Linked DNA regions of Homo sapiens: regions 1, 2 and 4 are each linked to region 3. Evidence: promoter capture Hi-C in 16 types of primary human blood cells and fetal thymus (Javierre and others, 2016). All regions are on one chromosome and are shown on one strand. Each heading gives the region's core, a stretch centred on a gene start or on the middle of the fragment in contact. The rest is flanking DNA. Distances are from core to core; before and after follow the strand shown. Region 1 holds the start of SMURF2 (SMAD specific E3 ubiquitin protein ligase 2). Region 2 overlaps PECAM1 (platelet and endothelial cell adhesion molecule 1). Region 3 holds the start of POLG2 (DNA polymerase gamma 2, accessory subunit). Region 4 overlaps SMURF2 (SMAD specific E3 ubiquitin protein ligase 2).

Region 1 (3,647 bases), core at 588-3,087, 170 kb before region 3:
TTTTTGATATGGAGTCTCGCTCTGTCACCCAGGCTGAAGTGCAGTGGCGTGATCTCGGCTCACTGCAACCTCCCGTGTTCAAGCGATTCTCTTGCCTCAGCCTCCCTAATTGCTGGGACCACAGGCATGCGCCACCAGGCCCGGCTAATTTTTTTGTATTTTTTTTTAGTACAGACGGGGTTTCACCATGTTGGCCAGGCTGGTCTCAAACTCCTGACCTCAAATGATCCGCCCACCTCGGCCTCCCAAAGTGTTGGAATTACAGGCGTGAGCCACTGTGCCCGGCCTATCTGTGGTATTTTTAGTGTGATGTCTAGAACTTCATATACTTTTTTGGATTACTTTTAATTGTAGGGCTGTATCCAAACTGATGAAATGTTCTCGCAGGTAACTATCTGGAGAAGTGAGTTCACTGATGTATTAAAAGAAATGACTGGCATGGAATAAGGATTAAAATATATTAATCCAAAACATTTAAAATTGCATTAATGTTATAATAGCCTAAAGCAAAACTAACGAATCACATAAAAAATCCCCCACGCTATTGTCCTTAGTAGTTTACATTGTGCTAGATACTTTCGCATGTATATGCATACAACTTCTATTCTGTTTTTAAACTTTGCATTACATATACATTCTTCCATATTATATGATCTTCATAAAAATAGTTACATGGCTGCATAAAAAACCATGCGGTTCCTGGACTATTATGCTATTCCCTCATTCCCCTTTTGTTATTAATGGAATATAGCAAAGAACATCTTCTGTACGATTATTTGTCAAGAATAGGGCCGGTGCGGTGGCTCAGGTCTGTAATCCCAGCACTTTGGGAGGCCGAGGCGGGCTGATCGCTTGAGGTCAGGAGTTCGTGACCAGCCTGGGCAACATGGGAAAACCTAAACGTCTCTACTAAACATGTCTCTACTAAAAATACAAAAATTAGTGGGGCGTAGTGGTGCACACTGTGGTCTCAGCTACTCCAGAGGCTCAGGTGGGAGGATCACCTGAGCCCCGGAAGTTGAGACTGCAGTGAGCCGTGTTCGCACCACTGCACTCCAGCCTGGGCGACAGAGGGAGACCCTGTCTAAAAACAAAAAAATAAAAAATAAATTTCTAGCAGTACAGTTACAATGTCAAAGGATAAGGTACACATTTTTTAAAAACTTTTCTCTTTCTCCTCCTGAGATAACGAAATACAGTAGCGTATGAACAACTCTTCATACATTACTCTCCAAGGTTTATCTTGTTAATCCTTTAAGACGTATCATCTCCCCATCCTTGGCTGCACCTGAAAAGAGCGGGAGTCGGCAGGTAACCTGATCTCCTCCACCAGGTGAGTCCCGGATGGAGGTGTCAACTACAAGACCAGGAGCAGAGCATTCCTGGGGTTTTGCTGGAACCATCGGCGTGGGAATGCTTTCTCTTCCCTCGCCCGAAAGACGCCAAGTTCCCGGCAGGCAGCGGACTCGGTTCTAACCTTCCTCGCCCCAGCCTCTCGGAGCGCCCTGCACGCAGTGGGCGTCTAATAAAATGCAGTTGGCCCTGCTTGGACAAAAGTTCTCCCTTAAGTGGCCCGGACAGTAAACCCCTCCAGGTGCCACAGAGCTGCCGCGCCCGCCGCCGCTTTGCTCCCTGCCTGCTCCCTCCCAGCGTTCCGCGTGGGACCCTCGGCGGCAGCTCACACCCTCCCTGACTGCCGGTGCCCGCCAGGGCACCCTGCGCGCGCCCGCCGGCCCCGCCCCGGCCCCGCCCCGCCCCGCCGGCCCCGCCTCCCGTCTCCTCCCCGCCCCCCGGAGCCGACGAGTGGCGGCGGCGGCCCCAGGTCCCGGGTCCCTCAGACAAGAGGGCGGGTGGAGGAGGAAGCGGCCGAGCCCAGAGTTCTGCTCCGGCGCCCCCGAGCACCGCCCGCTTCAGCCGACCAGCCCCGTCGGCTACTGGGCCTCGCCGAGACGAGAGGAGGGAAAGGCCTCGGCGGCCGCGAGGAGGCGGCGGGGGCGCGGGCGGAGGCGGCGCGGGCGGCCGCGGCTGCCGCTTTGTTGTGCGGCCCGGGCCGAGGAAGGAGAAGTGGGAGGAGGGGGGAGCTCGGCGTCCCGCTCCCTCCGCGGCTCATGGCGACGACTCTCGGCACATCCGGGACCCTCCGGCCGTGGCGGCCGAGGCGCCGGCTGCTCGGGCCCCAGCCCCGGCCGCTGTGGTGACTCCGCCGCGCCTCGCCGTCGCCCCCGTGCCGCCCGCCGCCCCCGCCGCCCCCGCCGCCGGGGACATGTCTAACCCCGGAGGCCGGAGGAACGGGCCCGTCAAGCTGCGCCTGACAGGTGAGGGGGGGCGGCGGGCCGGGCTGGGCAGCCGCGGGGTGGGCGAGCTGGCGGGGGGTGCCTGTGGCCTTGGGAAGGGCCAGGGTCGCGATCAATGATGAGTTGGGGGTCGGAGGAATGGGAAGGCCTAGTTCAGGGAGAGTAATTGGAAAACCACTTGCTCTGGTTTGGACATTGTTTAAAAAGCCGAGGATGACTCGGGGCGGGGGGTGGTGTTTTGTGGAGGGGAGAATACACCGGTTCGCATCGCAGGCGGATTTCAGGTCGGAAAGTCTTGGTCAAGGAGCCAGACGCTGCCTCCCGGGGCTCGGGGAACAGCCCCTGGGCTACCGCCCAGGTGAGATCGTGAAGGGGATGAAGAGCTCCCGTGGCGAGGATTATTGAATCCGGTTGCTGACTGCGCGCAGTAAACACTCCTTAAAGATGGAGCGCTTAACGGGAGGGTGTGCGTGTGTGTTCCCGGGTTGTTACCTTGCACACACCCAGTTATGCCCGCATGAAAAACCTTTACTCCCCGCCGCCGGCCACCGCTGCCCGGGCCACACACCTTAAACTCATGTCTCTGAGGTGAGGAGACAGGTTGACTTTTCCGGTGTGCCTGTCTGATCCGACGGCTTGGGCTCATTGTACACTGTGTTTTGGAAGTGTCTGATTGTAGGGTGGCATGTTTGGGGTTGTTCCTTTTAGGCCGCAGAACTTGTGTCTAACTTCTAACGCCAGACCTGCTTTAAAAACACACTTTTTTGGGGGGGGTGCATTGCTAAGTATGTGCTCATACAAACTTTCGAGCAAACTTTCTGTTACTCTCCCCACCCTCCCCATTCCTTTTTCGAAATGGAAAAGAATGTCCGGAGGGGTTGCCAGATAGAAGACTACACTTACAAAGTGTTTATGATTCCAGGTGCATGAAATCTTTAACATTACAGGTACGTTTTGCTTACAGTGCCATTTTTGGTATTCTTACATGGACATGCCACCCCCGTTTTAGGAGAACTTTTATTTGGTTTGTAAAGGAATTGGAATCACGGCGTTATCCTACCTTCACCATTTACCCCTGATAAATTGTCCACGTTTGTATTCGGGTGAGTGGTGAGAAAGATAATTTTCCGTAGAGGATTTGTGTGTGCGTGCACGTGTACGGATAAACTGTAATTATGTTTGCCCACACTAGACTTTGAGATTTATTTGGACTAATTTTGTAGTTAAATGCCTGTGTGTCACATCCCAGTCCACTGGCTGAACTTGCTGGATGAAAACTTGCAGTGAATTTGGTATTTGAGAATTTAGCTTGAATGTATGTTGGCTGCAATTTAAATAATATATTACTTTCAT
Region 2 (3,693 bases), core at 441-2,940, 170 kb after region 3:
TTTTTGCTTTTTTTGTTTGTTTGTGTGTTTTTTGAGATGAAGTCTCACTCTATCACCCAGGCTGGAGTGCAGGGGTGCTATTTCAGCTCACTGCAACCTCCATCTCCCAGACTCAAGTGATCCTCCCACCTCAGCCTCCTGAGTAGCTGGGACTACAGGTGCACACCACCATGTATGCCTAATTCTTTGCATTTTTGATAGAGATGGGGCTTCGCCATGTTGCCCAGGCTGTTCTGGAACTCCTAAACTCAGGGGATCCACCCACCTTGGCCTCCCAAAGTGCTGGGATTACAGGGATGAGCTACCATGCCCAGCCAGGAATCCTTTTTTTTAATTGTCATAAAATATACATAATATTAAATTTACCATTTTCTTTTTTTTTGAGACGGAGTCTTGCTCTGTCGCCCAGGTTGGAGTGCAGTGGCGCAATCTTGGCTCACTGCAAGCTCCGCCTCCCGGGTTCACGCCATTCTCCTGCCTCAGCCTCCCGAGTGGCTGGGACTACAGGCACACGCCACCACGCCCGGCTAATTTTTGTATTTTTCAGTAGAGACAAGGTTTCACTATGTTGGCCAGGCTGGTCTTGAACTCCTGACCTCATGATCCACCCGCCTCGGCCTCCCAAAGTGTTGGGATTACAGGCGTGAGCCACTGCGCCCGCCCGGCAAATTCACCATTTTCCAGTGTATACTTAACCATTTTAAAGTGTATAATTCAGTTGCATTAGGTCCGTTCACATTGCTGTGCAACCACCACCACTATCCATCTCCAGAGCTTTTTCTTTTTAAGTGAAAGCAAGTTTATTAGAGAAGTAAAGAAACAAAAGAATGGCTACTCCATAGGCAGAGCAGCCACTGAAACACTGTACCCATTAAACACTAACTCCCCATTGCCCCTCCAGCAACCCCTAGCAACCACTGTCTACTTTCTGTCTCTATGAATTTGACTATTTGAGGTACATCACATAAGTGGAATCATATATTTGTCCTTTCATGTCTGCCTTATTTCATTTAGCATAACGTTTTCAAGGTTTTCCTGTGTTGAAAATATATCAGAATTTCATTCTCTTTTTAAGGTAGAATCATATCATTTTAAAACATTTCAGTTGGACCATCTAAGTTCAGTCCTTCATTTTCAAAATTAAAAAACAGGCCTCAAACGGGTACATCTCACGTTAGCTAGAGACAGAACTGGAGCTAGAAGTCAGATCTCTTACAAAGTTGCCTTTCTTCTTCTGTGGGTAAGTGGGGCACCCTTGGGACGCTGTGCTGGGCGTACATGGGTGCTTGATGAAGTTACTTGGTGGACTGATGTGATTGATGTCCAACATGTATGCAGGGACAGAGGCTATGGTCCCTACAGAGCAGGCATGGAGAGAAGGAGAAATACATACGGGCAGGAGCCAGGAGAGGGAGGGTGTAGTGAGCAGAGACCGCGCCACTGCACTCCAGCCTGAGTGACAGAGTGAGAATCCATCTAAAAAAAATTGCTTGCTAAAGAAGTGGTCTCCTGAGGTCTTAAGACGTTCCTGACAATGTCTTGAGTGGGTGGGAGAGAGGCTGCAGTCATTGTGCTGTGGAATTTCAGAGGTGAGAACCACACCTAACCAAAATTACTTTCCCTGTTTGCCTCAGTGACACAGCTGCAGGAACCCTGGTGGGTGTTGTATTAAGTAAATTTGACCTTTATTCTTTGCAGATCTGTGAAATGTTGTCTTCTGAGGGGCCACGTGTATCTGTAGTGCTGAGGACTCCTTGGGCCTCTGAAGTCACAGAGAGAACCCTGCAGGGTGGGGGACCAGTGTGTGACAGCCCTGCTTTGCATTTTCTTTGAGAAGTGCTGTCATTTTGCATTTCTCTCCACCAGGGCAATCTTCAATCTTGAGAGGTGTGATCATAACTTGCCTTGTTTCTTGTCGCTACAGAGAACGGAAGGCTCCCTTGATGGAACTTAGACAGCAAGGCCAGATGCACATCCCTGGAAGGACATCCATGTTCCGAGAAGAACAGATAATCCCTGTATTTCAAGACCTCTGTGCACTTATTTATGAACCTGCCCTGCTCCCACAGAACACAGCAATTCCTCAGGCTAAGCTGCCGGTTCTTAAATCCATCCTGCTAAGTTAATGTTGGGTAGAAAGAGATACAGAGGGGCTGTTGAATTTCCCACATACCCTCCTTCCACCAAGTTGGAACATCCTTGGAAATTGGAAGAGCACAAGAGGAGATCCAGGGCAAGGCCATTGGGATATTCTGAAACTTGAATATTTTGTTTTGTGCAGAGATAAAGACCTTTTCCATGCACCCTCATACACAGAAACCAATTTTCTTTTTTATACTCAATCATTTCTAGCGCATGGCCTGGTTAGAGGCTGGTTTTTTCTCTTTTCCTTTGGTCCTTCAAAGGCTTGTAGTTTTGGCTAGTCCTTGTTCTTTGGAAATACACAGTGCTGACCAGACAGCCTCCCCCTGTCCCCTCTATGACCTCGCCCTCCACAAATGGGAAAACCAGACTACTTGGGAGCACCGCCTGTGAAATACCAACCTGAAGACACCGTTCATTCAGGCAACGCACAAAACAGAAAATGAAGGTGGAACAAGCACAGATGTTCTTCAACTGTTTTTGTCTACACTCTTTCTCTTTTCCTCTACCATGCTGAAGGCTGAAAGACAGGAAGATGGTGCCATCAGCAAATATTATTCTTAATTGAAAACTTGAAATGTGTATGTTTCTTACTAATTTTTAAAAATGTATTCCTTGCCAGGGCAGGCAAGGTGGCTCACGCCTGTAATCCCAGCACTTCAGGAGGCTGAGGTGGGCGGATCACCTGAGGTCAGGAGTTTGAGACCAGCCTGATGAAACCCTGTCTCTACTAAAAATACAAGAATTAGCCGGGCGTGGTGGCGCATGCCTGTAGTATCAGCTACTCAAGAGGCTGAGGTGAGATTATCGCTTGAACCCAGGAAACGGAGGTTGTAGTGAGCGGAGATCGCGCCACTGCACTCCAGCCTGAGTGACAGAGTGAGAATCCATCTCAAAAAAAACAAAAAACAAAATTGCTTGCTAAAGAAGTGGTCTCCTGAGGTCTTAAGACATTCCTGACAGTGTCTTGAGTGGGTGGGAGAGAGGCTGCTGTCATTGCGCTGTGGAATTTCACAGATGAGAACCACGCCTAGCCAAAATCACTTTTCCTGTTTGCCTCAGTGACACAGCTGCAGGGACCCTCGTGGATGTTGTATTAAATAAATTTGACCTTTGCTCTTTGCAGATCTGTGAAATGTTGTCTTCTGAGGGGCCACATGCATCTATAGTGCTGAGGACTCCTTGGGCCTCTGAAGTCACAGAGAGAACCGAGCAGGTCTATGTTTTTGTTTTGTTGTTTTGAGACGGAGATTCGCTCTTGTTGCCCGGGCTGGACTGCAGCGGCGCAACCTCTGCTCACTGCAACCTCCGCCTCCTGGGTTCAAGCAGTTCTCCTGTCTCAGCCTCCCGAGTAGCTGGGATTACAGGCACATGTCACCACGCCTGGCTAATTTTTGTATTTTTAGTAGAGATGGGGTTTCACCACGTTGGCCAGGCTGATCTCGAATGCCTGACCTTTGGTGATCTGCCCGCCTTGTCCTCATGTGTGCTCCACAGGCCTTTGGGTTGGGATTGCAGGCGTGAGCCACCATGCCCAGCCTAGACTCTTTT
Region 3 (3,889 bases), core at 1,328-3,827:
TGAAGACTGAATTAAGTGGAAATTGTACTTTATTTTATATAATGTCATGTAAAACTTTGCTTAAGATGGTCTGGTTTTTTTTTTGTTTTTGTTTGGTTTTTTTTTTCCATGAAAACAAATGACTGTTCCTTTTTATTTAATTTGGGAGGCAGGGGGAATCAGAAGGCCCTTCTTTATAATGAGCTATTCATATTGCAGGAGTCAGAATGAATTGATACAGGTGAATTTTTAGTTACAGGCTAAATTGCATAAAAGCTTTGTCAGCTTCCAGCATCAGGGGAGTCATTTAATAGCCTTTTTCCTTATTTGCTAGTATGGTTAAATGAGAAAATAGTAAAATAGATACAAAGTCATCTATATAGTGTGAGAACGTGGGTGACTTTTTCAAAGTTTATAATTTAAAAAGCTCCAAATAACTGGCTTTTTCAAGAGACTTATACTCATGCTCTTGGCTATACTGTGAATTACTGAAATGTTGAACAAACCTGTGAAAGACATACATTAGCCCTTTAAGATGGCCAGGAGCTAAGCTTGAGTCTCCTTTACTGAATTTCGTTCTTAGTGCAGGTTACTTGTAGATTCTAGTCTTCACAGGCTCCCTGGGGCTCTTAACTAGTCACACTGGGAGTCATGAATGTCTTTCCAATAATTCAGGGAATTCTAGAGATCCTCAAACTGTAAGGTCTATTCATACTCAACACAAGGAAAAAACCTCATTAAAATTAATGACTAATCAGGAGGCAACGTAACCAAAAGCACAGTGAATGAAAGTTTTCATGGTAGGTTCAACATGGGTTTATTGCTAGAAAGATCCAGGGGATAGCTTTAGGTTTAACTTCGGCTCACCAACGTAACTTTCTAATCATTTATTTCAGTAATAGCTAGAAGTGGGTCTGAATGTTTTCCCAGAGTCTGATACGTGTTTTTTTTTGCCAGAAGAGAGGTCTTCAGGAGACTTCATTTAAATTCTGATTATTAAACTGAGGCTTTAATTGATGTTAATGCCTTATGTCAAATGTAAAGTTAGAATTTGCTAGGGCTGGGATAGGGAGTGATATTTCTAGGACTTAGACATTGAAAACTAATTCAGCCTGTAGTAACCTGGATGGTTTTCAATGGCATGGTTAGTCAAATTCATGGTTTTAAACTTAGAAGCAGCTTTCGGGGGAGAGGGTAGGTTGGAGCATTTATTACATATTTTACTGTTTAATGTCTTAACCGTGGGCCTTTTAATTTGTAAACACTGAAATGATTGTTGGGCTGTGGAAAACATTTACCTATTTACCTTGGAAGTTTTAAAAGACAGTCCACTTTTTAGCATGTGTGTTGTGTCCAGCCTGTGGTCGTCTTAACTAATAAATGTGATTTTTCTCCCCATTCTCTCTTTTTATTTATTTGCGTATAGGCCTTTTACCTGGTGTGAGTTCCTGAATGTGGAAAACACCTGGCAGTAGTACCCAGCTTTGCAGTTAATTACTATCTAGCTGGCCTTTTTTTAAACCCTTGTATACACTTGTAAAGAAGAACTATTTCCTGAACCTGGTACAGCACTTTACTAATGATAAAACTTTACTCCTGAATTACATTAACTCAATTGCTAAGCTGTTACCCCTCTTAATCAGGTAGTAGTTTGGTAGTCTCACAGTGAAATGTAGATTGTTCCTTTTTCCCTGAACCTCTTTAAAGGTTTTCGTAACTGAGGCTGGTATAAGAAATCATGGACTTTGGAATCAAACTTCCTCAGTCTGGGTATACCACTTTTCCACTTTCTGGGTAGGTCTTAAGGTCTCGACCTATTTAAATAGAAACTGCAAAATCAGAAACCTGCAATTTAATCATGAGTCTCTTAATAATAACAGTCACAAGTCTCATTGTTTTGATGAACCCATAGAAGGGGCCCCTGGAAGAAATTGCACGTACGTGGTTTTCTCTGACACCAGGAGGGTTTAAGACATGTCAGGGCCCCTTGGTTTATTTCTAGTGCATTCCCAGGTGAGGCAGATGCTGCTGGCTGGGGACTGCCCTTTGGAAGCCACTGCAATATTTAAAGTGACCATACCACTACCCTAGTCACGAAGCCTATCGCCCCCCTCCCCGGAAGCTTAAGCGTCAAGACAACGGCTCTGGGGTTAGGCCTAGGCCACCTGGCGGCAGCATTTGCCTAGTTAAGAAGGCCTGGGCTTACAAATCACCGTAAAGGACTAAAACTGTTTAAAGGGAAACCAAATGCCAAATTTAGTCCAAGTGCTTGATTGAGGTGTATATAGAAGGTGATTTGGATAATACTGAAGTATTTTAATTTTCTGGACTGCAAAACAGTGGCAGAAGGAAGTGACTCAAGTGGCTACACCACGGTTATAAATAGGTGGGAATAACCTTTACTGGTGCTTACGAGGAAAGAAAAAAGTCAATCTGAAGGGAGGGGCGCGACGCGAACGGCAAGCTAGCAGAGAACCATCCGAGCCGGCGTCCGCCATGGTGGGCGGGGGACGGCTGCGGCCGGAACGCAGACATGCGCTTCCGGGGTGGGGCCTGCCGCCCGCAAGCACGCTCACCTCCGTTGCGCCTGCGCCGTGGCCTCTCCGGATTCTGTTAACGGTAGTGGTGGCTTGTTGGGATCCGTTGAGTGATGGGAGAGTGTGCTCTTTAACTTCGGAGAGAGATGCGCTCTCGTGTAGCCGTCAGGGCCTGCCATAAGGTCTGCAGGTGCCTGTTGTCTGGGTTTGGGGGTCGAGTAGATGCGGGGCAGCCGGAGCTGTTGACGGAAAGGAGTAGCCCCAAAGGAGGGCATGTGAAGTCGCACGCGGAGCTCGAGGGGAACGGCGAGCACCCAGAAGCCCCCGGGTCTGGAGAGGGAAGCGAGGCGCTGTTAGAGATCTGTCAGAGAAGGCATTTCCTAAGTGGAAGCAAGCAGCAGCTTAGCCGGGATTCTCTTCTGAGTGGGTGCCACCCCGGCTTCGGACCCTTGGGCGTAGAGTTGCGGAAGAACCTGGCCGCAGAATGGTGGACCTCGGTGGTGGTGTTCAGGGAGCAGGTATTCCCGGTGGACGCCCTCCACCACAAACCAGGCCCTTTGCTACCCGGGGACAGTGCCTTCAGGTTAGTTTCTGCAGAAACTCTACGCGAAATCTTGCAAGACAAAGAGCTGAGTAAGGAACAGCTAGTAGCATTTCTTGAGAACGTATTAAAAACTTCTGGGAAACTACGGGAGAACCTTCTTCACGGTATGCTTCACGATTTCATGCTTCAAAACAGGTGTCGGGTGGAAAGGCGAGGCAGTCTTGCTGGATCTTGGGGATTGCAACTGGCCCTGTATTCCCATGCAAGGAAGTTAGTTAGTTCTCATCTTTTTGAAGTAGTCGGATATATTAACAGTGCTCTACCCTGGAGAAAACTGGTCCATGGAATCATTGCTGTTCCTTAAACAATCTGTCCGAAGGACCTGGGAACGCTCTCAATTTCACGGGGCAACTTCTGAACACAGTGCTGTCATTTAGTGCAATGTAGTCTAAGTGCATAAGGAACTACACAGACATTTTGAACTTTTCTTAGATTTATTCTAAGTAAAAATGTTGAAATTATAATTCTGAAACTATTTCATGTATATCATAGGATAAATCAAGGCCAGGCGCAGTGGCTCACGCCTGTAATCCCAGCATTTTGCAAGGCAGAGGCGGGTGGATCACCTGAGGTCAGGAGTTCGAGACTAGCCTGGCCAACATGGTGAAACCCCGTCTCTACTAAAAAGACAAAAATTAGCCGGCCGTGACGGCGAGCGCCTGTAATCCCAGCTACTTGGGAGGCTGAGGCAGGAGAATCGCTTGAACCCAGGAGGCAGAGGTTGCAGTGAGCCGAGATCACGCCACTGCACTCCAGCTTGGGTGACAAG
Region 4 (3,536 bases), core at 237-2,736, 150 kb before region 3:
GTTTCTTCTGATTTTTTTTTCTTTTTTTTTCAGTTTCTTCTGATTTCCAGCTTAGTTAACCCCTAATTGTATTTTTTCTAGCAAGGAAGAAGACTAAGAATAATGATGAAATATGCTCATATTTACATATTCATTCAGTAAACATTTGCTGGGAGTCTTACATGCACCTAACACTGAGATGTAGGCTCTAGGATTTTAAGAAGAGGTTAAGACCTTTATCTTGCTTTCAGGGAACTTGCAGGTAACCAAACAGATAAGACTTGATGGATGAAATAACCACAGTCAGTGCTAGAGTTAATGGTGTATGCAGTAAGGGTGAAATAAAATAATGAAAGCCCATAGGTATTTCTAAGGGGGCTTTCTAGATTCTACGATTGATCTTTCATATTTTCTACCTTCCACTTTACAAAGAAAGGCACATTAGCCAGACATCCCAAATAGTACATTGTGGTGAGAGGCCTTCCACACCACCAGAGAGACAAATCAGAATGTTGGTGAGAAGGCAGTGATATCAATGACTGGGTAGCATCTTTTCATAAGTCAGGCATATTTCTCTCTGTAGTTTTCAACAAAATTGAAGGACTTGATCAAGTTTTAGCTGGTCATTAAAAATAATTTTTATAGGGCCAGGAGTGGTGGCTCATGCCTGTAATCCCAGCACTTTGGGAGGCTGAAGGGATGGATCGCTTGAGCTCATGAATTCGAGACCAGCCTGGGCAACATGGTGAAACTCCATCTCTACAAAAACTACAAAAATTAGCCTGGTGTGTGGTGCATACCTCTAGTCCCAACTACTTGGGAGGCTGAGGTGGGAGGATGGCTCGAGCCCAGCAGGCAGAGGTTGCAGTGAGCCGAGATGGTGCCACTGCACTCCAGCCTGGGCGATAGAGCCAGACCTTGTCTCAATTTAAAAAAAAAAAAAAAGAAAGAAAAAAAAAAAGAAAAATTCCAGTGGCTCATGCCTATAATCCCAGCACTTTGGGAGGCTGAGGCGGGCAGATCACTTGAGGTCAGGAGTTCAATACCAGCCTGGCCAATGTGGTGAAACTCTGTCTCTACCAAAAATACAAAAATTAGTTGGGCATGGTGGTGTGCGCCTATAATCCCAGCTACTCGGGAGGCTGAGACATGAGAATTGCTTGAACCTGGAGATGGAGGTTGCAGTGAGCTGAGATGGCACCACTGCACTCCAGCCTAGGCAACAGAGCGGGACTCCATCTCAAAAAAAAAAAAAATTATAAGAAATAGTGAAGTCAAATGCCATTTCCCAGAAAGTTTTTTAAAATTATAGATCTTGGTAATTTTTTTTGGCATCTAACTCAAAGAATTTAATGGCATTGCTGTAACAAAACTTCTTTCATTACCTACTTATTTATGTGAATAGGTTTTCTTAGCATTTATATGTATAAAATGAAAAATGGGATTAGAATTTATGTTGTACCCTCATTCCAGCAATAAGTAATAGTCATTAATAGACACATGAAGTAATTGAAAGTAAGAAAACCCCATCCATCTCATTAAGAGATGCATGTCCACCTGGGTGTGGTGGCATATGTCTGTAATCCCAGCTACTCATAAGGCTGAGGCAGGAGGGTTGTTAAGCCTAGGCGTTTGAGACCAGCCTGGCAACATAGCGATACCCTGTCTTGAATTTAAAAACAAACAAAAAGGAGACATGCATGTCCAATTATTCTCTTCCTTGTCTTCCTCCCCACTTTTCTATTTTTCTTAATTATTTTTTTAGGGACAAGTTCTCACTGTGTTGCCCAGGCTGATGTGTACTAGTGTTCACAGGTGTGAACATAACACACTGCAGCCTTAAACTCATGGGCTCAACCTATCCTCCTGCCTCAACCTCCAGAGAAGCTGGGACTACAGCTGTACACCACTGTACCTGATACCCCTCTCCCTTTTTGAGTAAGTGGTTTGTTTAATCAGAATCCGGAAGAGGTCTACACATTGTATTGGGTTGGTATGTCTCTTAATTATCGTTTAAACTATAGCTTTCTCTTTTCTTCCTCTGAATTTTCTTTTTCTTCAAATTTATTTATTATAGAAAACAGATTTATTAAATATATCAGCATCTCAAAACTCTTTATCATTTGGCCCTAGCCTTCCCATCATACCACTGTGTTCTACCACTCTGAACTCCTTGTCTTTTCTTAAATTTCATAATCTCTTGTATCTCCAAGTTTTTGACAGTGCTGTTGCCTTAGATGATGCTGTTACCCATCTTCCTCCTTCCCCACCTAGTCTTCCTGTCGAATCTACTCAGCACTTTGTTTTGTTTTTTTTTTTTGAGACAGTCTTGCTCTTGTTATCCAGGCTGAAGTGCAGTGGTGTGATCTCGGCTCACTGCAACCTCTGCCTTCTGGGTTGAAGCGGCTCCTGCCTCAGCCTCTTGAGTAGCTGGAATTACAGGCGCCTGCCACCATGCCTGGCTAATTTTTGTGTATATGTATATTTTTAGTAGAGACAGGGTTTCACCATGAGACAGCTTCCCAAGTAGCTGGGATCACAGGCACGCCACCATGCCCAGCTAATTTTTGTCTTTTTGGTAGAGTTGGAGTTTCGCCATGTTGGCCAGGCTGGTCTCAAACTCCTGATCTTAGGTGATCCGCCCGTCTCAGCCTCCCAAAGTGCTGTGATTACAGGCGTGAGCCACCATGCCTGGCTACTCAGCATTTTTTTTTTTTTCTTTTTTTTTTTGAGACAGAGTCTTGCTCTTGTCACCTAGGCTGGAGTGCAGTGGTTTGATCATGGCTTACTGCAGCCTGGACCACCCAGGCTCAAGCATTCCTCCTGCCTCAGCCTCCTGAGTAGTTGGGACTATAGGTATGTGCCACCATACTTGGCTAATTTTTTTTTTTTTTTTCTATTTTTAGTAGAGATGAGGTTCTGATGTGTTGCCAAGGCTGGTCTCAAACTCCTGAGCTCAATTAGATCTTCCTGCCTTAACCTCCTAAATTGTTGGGAGTACAGGCATGAGCCACCAAGCTTGGTGCTCCAGTTTTAAGACATAGCTGAGGCTGGGCGCGGTGGCTTATGCCTGAAATCCCAGCGCTTTGAAGGCTGAGGCAGGTGGATTGCCTGAGCAACATGGTGAAACTCCGTCTCTACAAAAACTGCAAAAATTAGCCTGGTGTGTGGTGCGTACCTGTAGTCCCAACTACTTGGGAGGCTGAGGTGGGAGGATGGTTTGAGCCCAGCAGGCAGAGGTTGCAGTGAGCCAAGATTGTGCCACTGCACTCCAGGAGTTTGAGACCAGCCTGGGCGATATGGTGAAACCCCATCTCCACTAAAAATATAAAAATTAGCCAGGCTTGGTGGCGCGCACCTATAATCCAGCTACTTAGGAGGCTGAGGCAGGAGAATCGCCTGAACCCAGGAGGCAGAGGCTGCAGTGAGCCGAGATCACACCACTGCACTCCAGCCTGGGCCACAGATTGAGACTCAGTCTCAAAAAACAAACAAACAAAAAACGTAGCTGAAGCATCATCTCCTCTGAGAATTCTTCCCAGGCTTCCCCAGACTGA

The links. The method cuts DNA at HindIII sites, captures the fragments that hold promoters and counts their contacts. A CHiCAGO score of 5 or more calls a contact.
Region 1: the fragment with the promoter of SMURF2 here is called in contact with the fragment with the promoter of POLG2 in region 3 in 1 of 17 cell types (megakaryocytes); the score reaches 5.0 in megakaryocytes.
Region 2: a fragment that was not itself captured here is called in contact with the fragment with the promoter of POLG2 in region 3 in 12 of 17 cell types (neutrophils, M0 macrophages, naive CD4 T cells and 9 more); the score reaches 11.4 in neutrophils.
Region 4: a contact is called between a fragment that was not itself captured here and the fragment with the promoter of POLG2 in region 3, in 13 of 17 cell types (megakaryocytes, erythroblasts, naive CD4 T cells and 10 more). The highest score is 19.1, in megakaryocytes.

The regions. Positions count from the first base shown.
Region 1 is chr17:64,660,497-64,664,143 of GRCh38, reverse strand. SMURF2 (SMAD specific E3 ubiquitin protein ligase 2) reads left to right here and starts at 1,837. Exons shown (of 19, transcript NM_022739.4): 1 at 1,837-2,315. The coding sequence starts at 2,264. RefSeq lists an enhancer at 985-1,543 and silencers at 1,694-2,093, 2,144-2,343. The HindIII fragment of the contact is 18,568 bases long and covers 1-3,647 here.
Region 2 is chr17:64,322,077-64,325,769 of GRCh38, reverse strand. It overlaps PECAM1 (platelet and endothelial cell adhesion molecule 1), which reads left to right. Exons shown (of 16, transcript NM_000442.5): 16 at 1,925-3,693. The coding sequence ends at 1,954. Among named protein-coding and RNA genes, the nearest start is that of TEX2, 61 kb to the right of the region's middle. The HindIII fragment of the contact is 6,637 bases long and covers 1-3,693 here.
Region 3 is chr17:64,495,742-64,499,630 of GRCh38, reverse strand. It overlaps POLG2 (DNA polymerase gamma 2, accessory subunit), which reads left to right and starts at 2,577. Exons shown (of 8, transcript NM_007215.4): 1 at 2,577-3,224. The coding sequence starts at 2,663. DDX5 (DEAD-box helicase 5) reads left to right here. Exons shown (of 13, transcript NM_004396.5): 13 at 1-1,377. It also overlaps a transcript of MILR1 not described here. RefSeq lists enhancers at 2,300-2,439, 2,820-2,889, 2,541-3,400. The HindIII fragment of the contact is 2,967 bases long and covers 2,104-3,889 here.
Region 4 is chr17:64,643,770-64,647,305 of GRCh38, reverse strand. The region is part of intron 1 of SMURF2 (SMAD specific E3 ubiquitin protein ligase 2); the gene reads left to right. Among named protein-coding and RNA genes, the nearest start is that of SMURF2, 17 kb to the left of the region's middle. The HindIII fragment of the contact is 3,026 bases long and covers 1-2,999 here.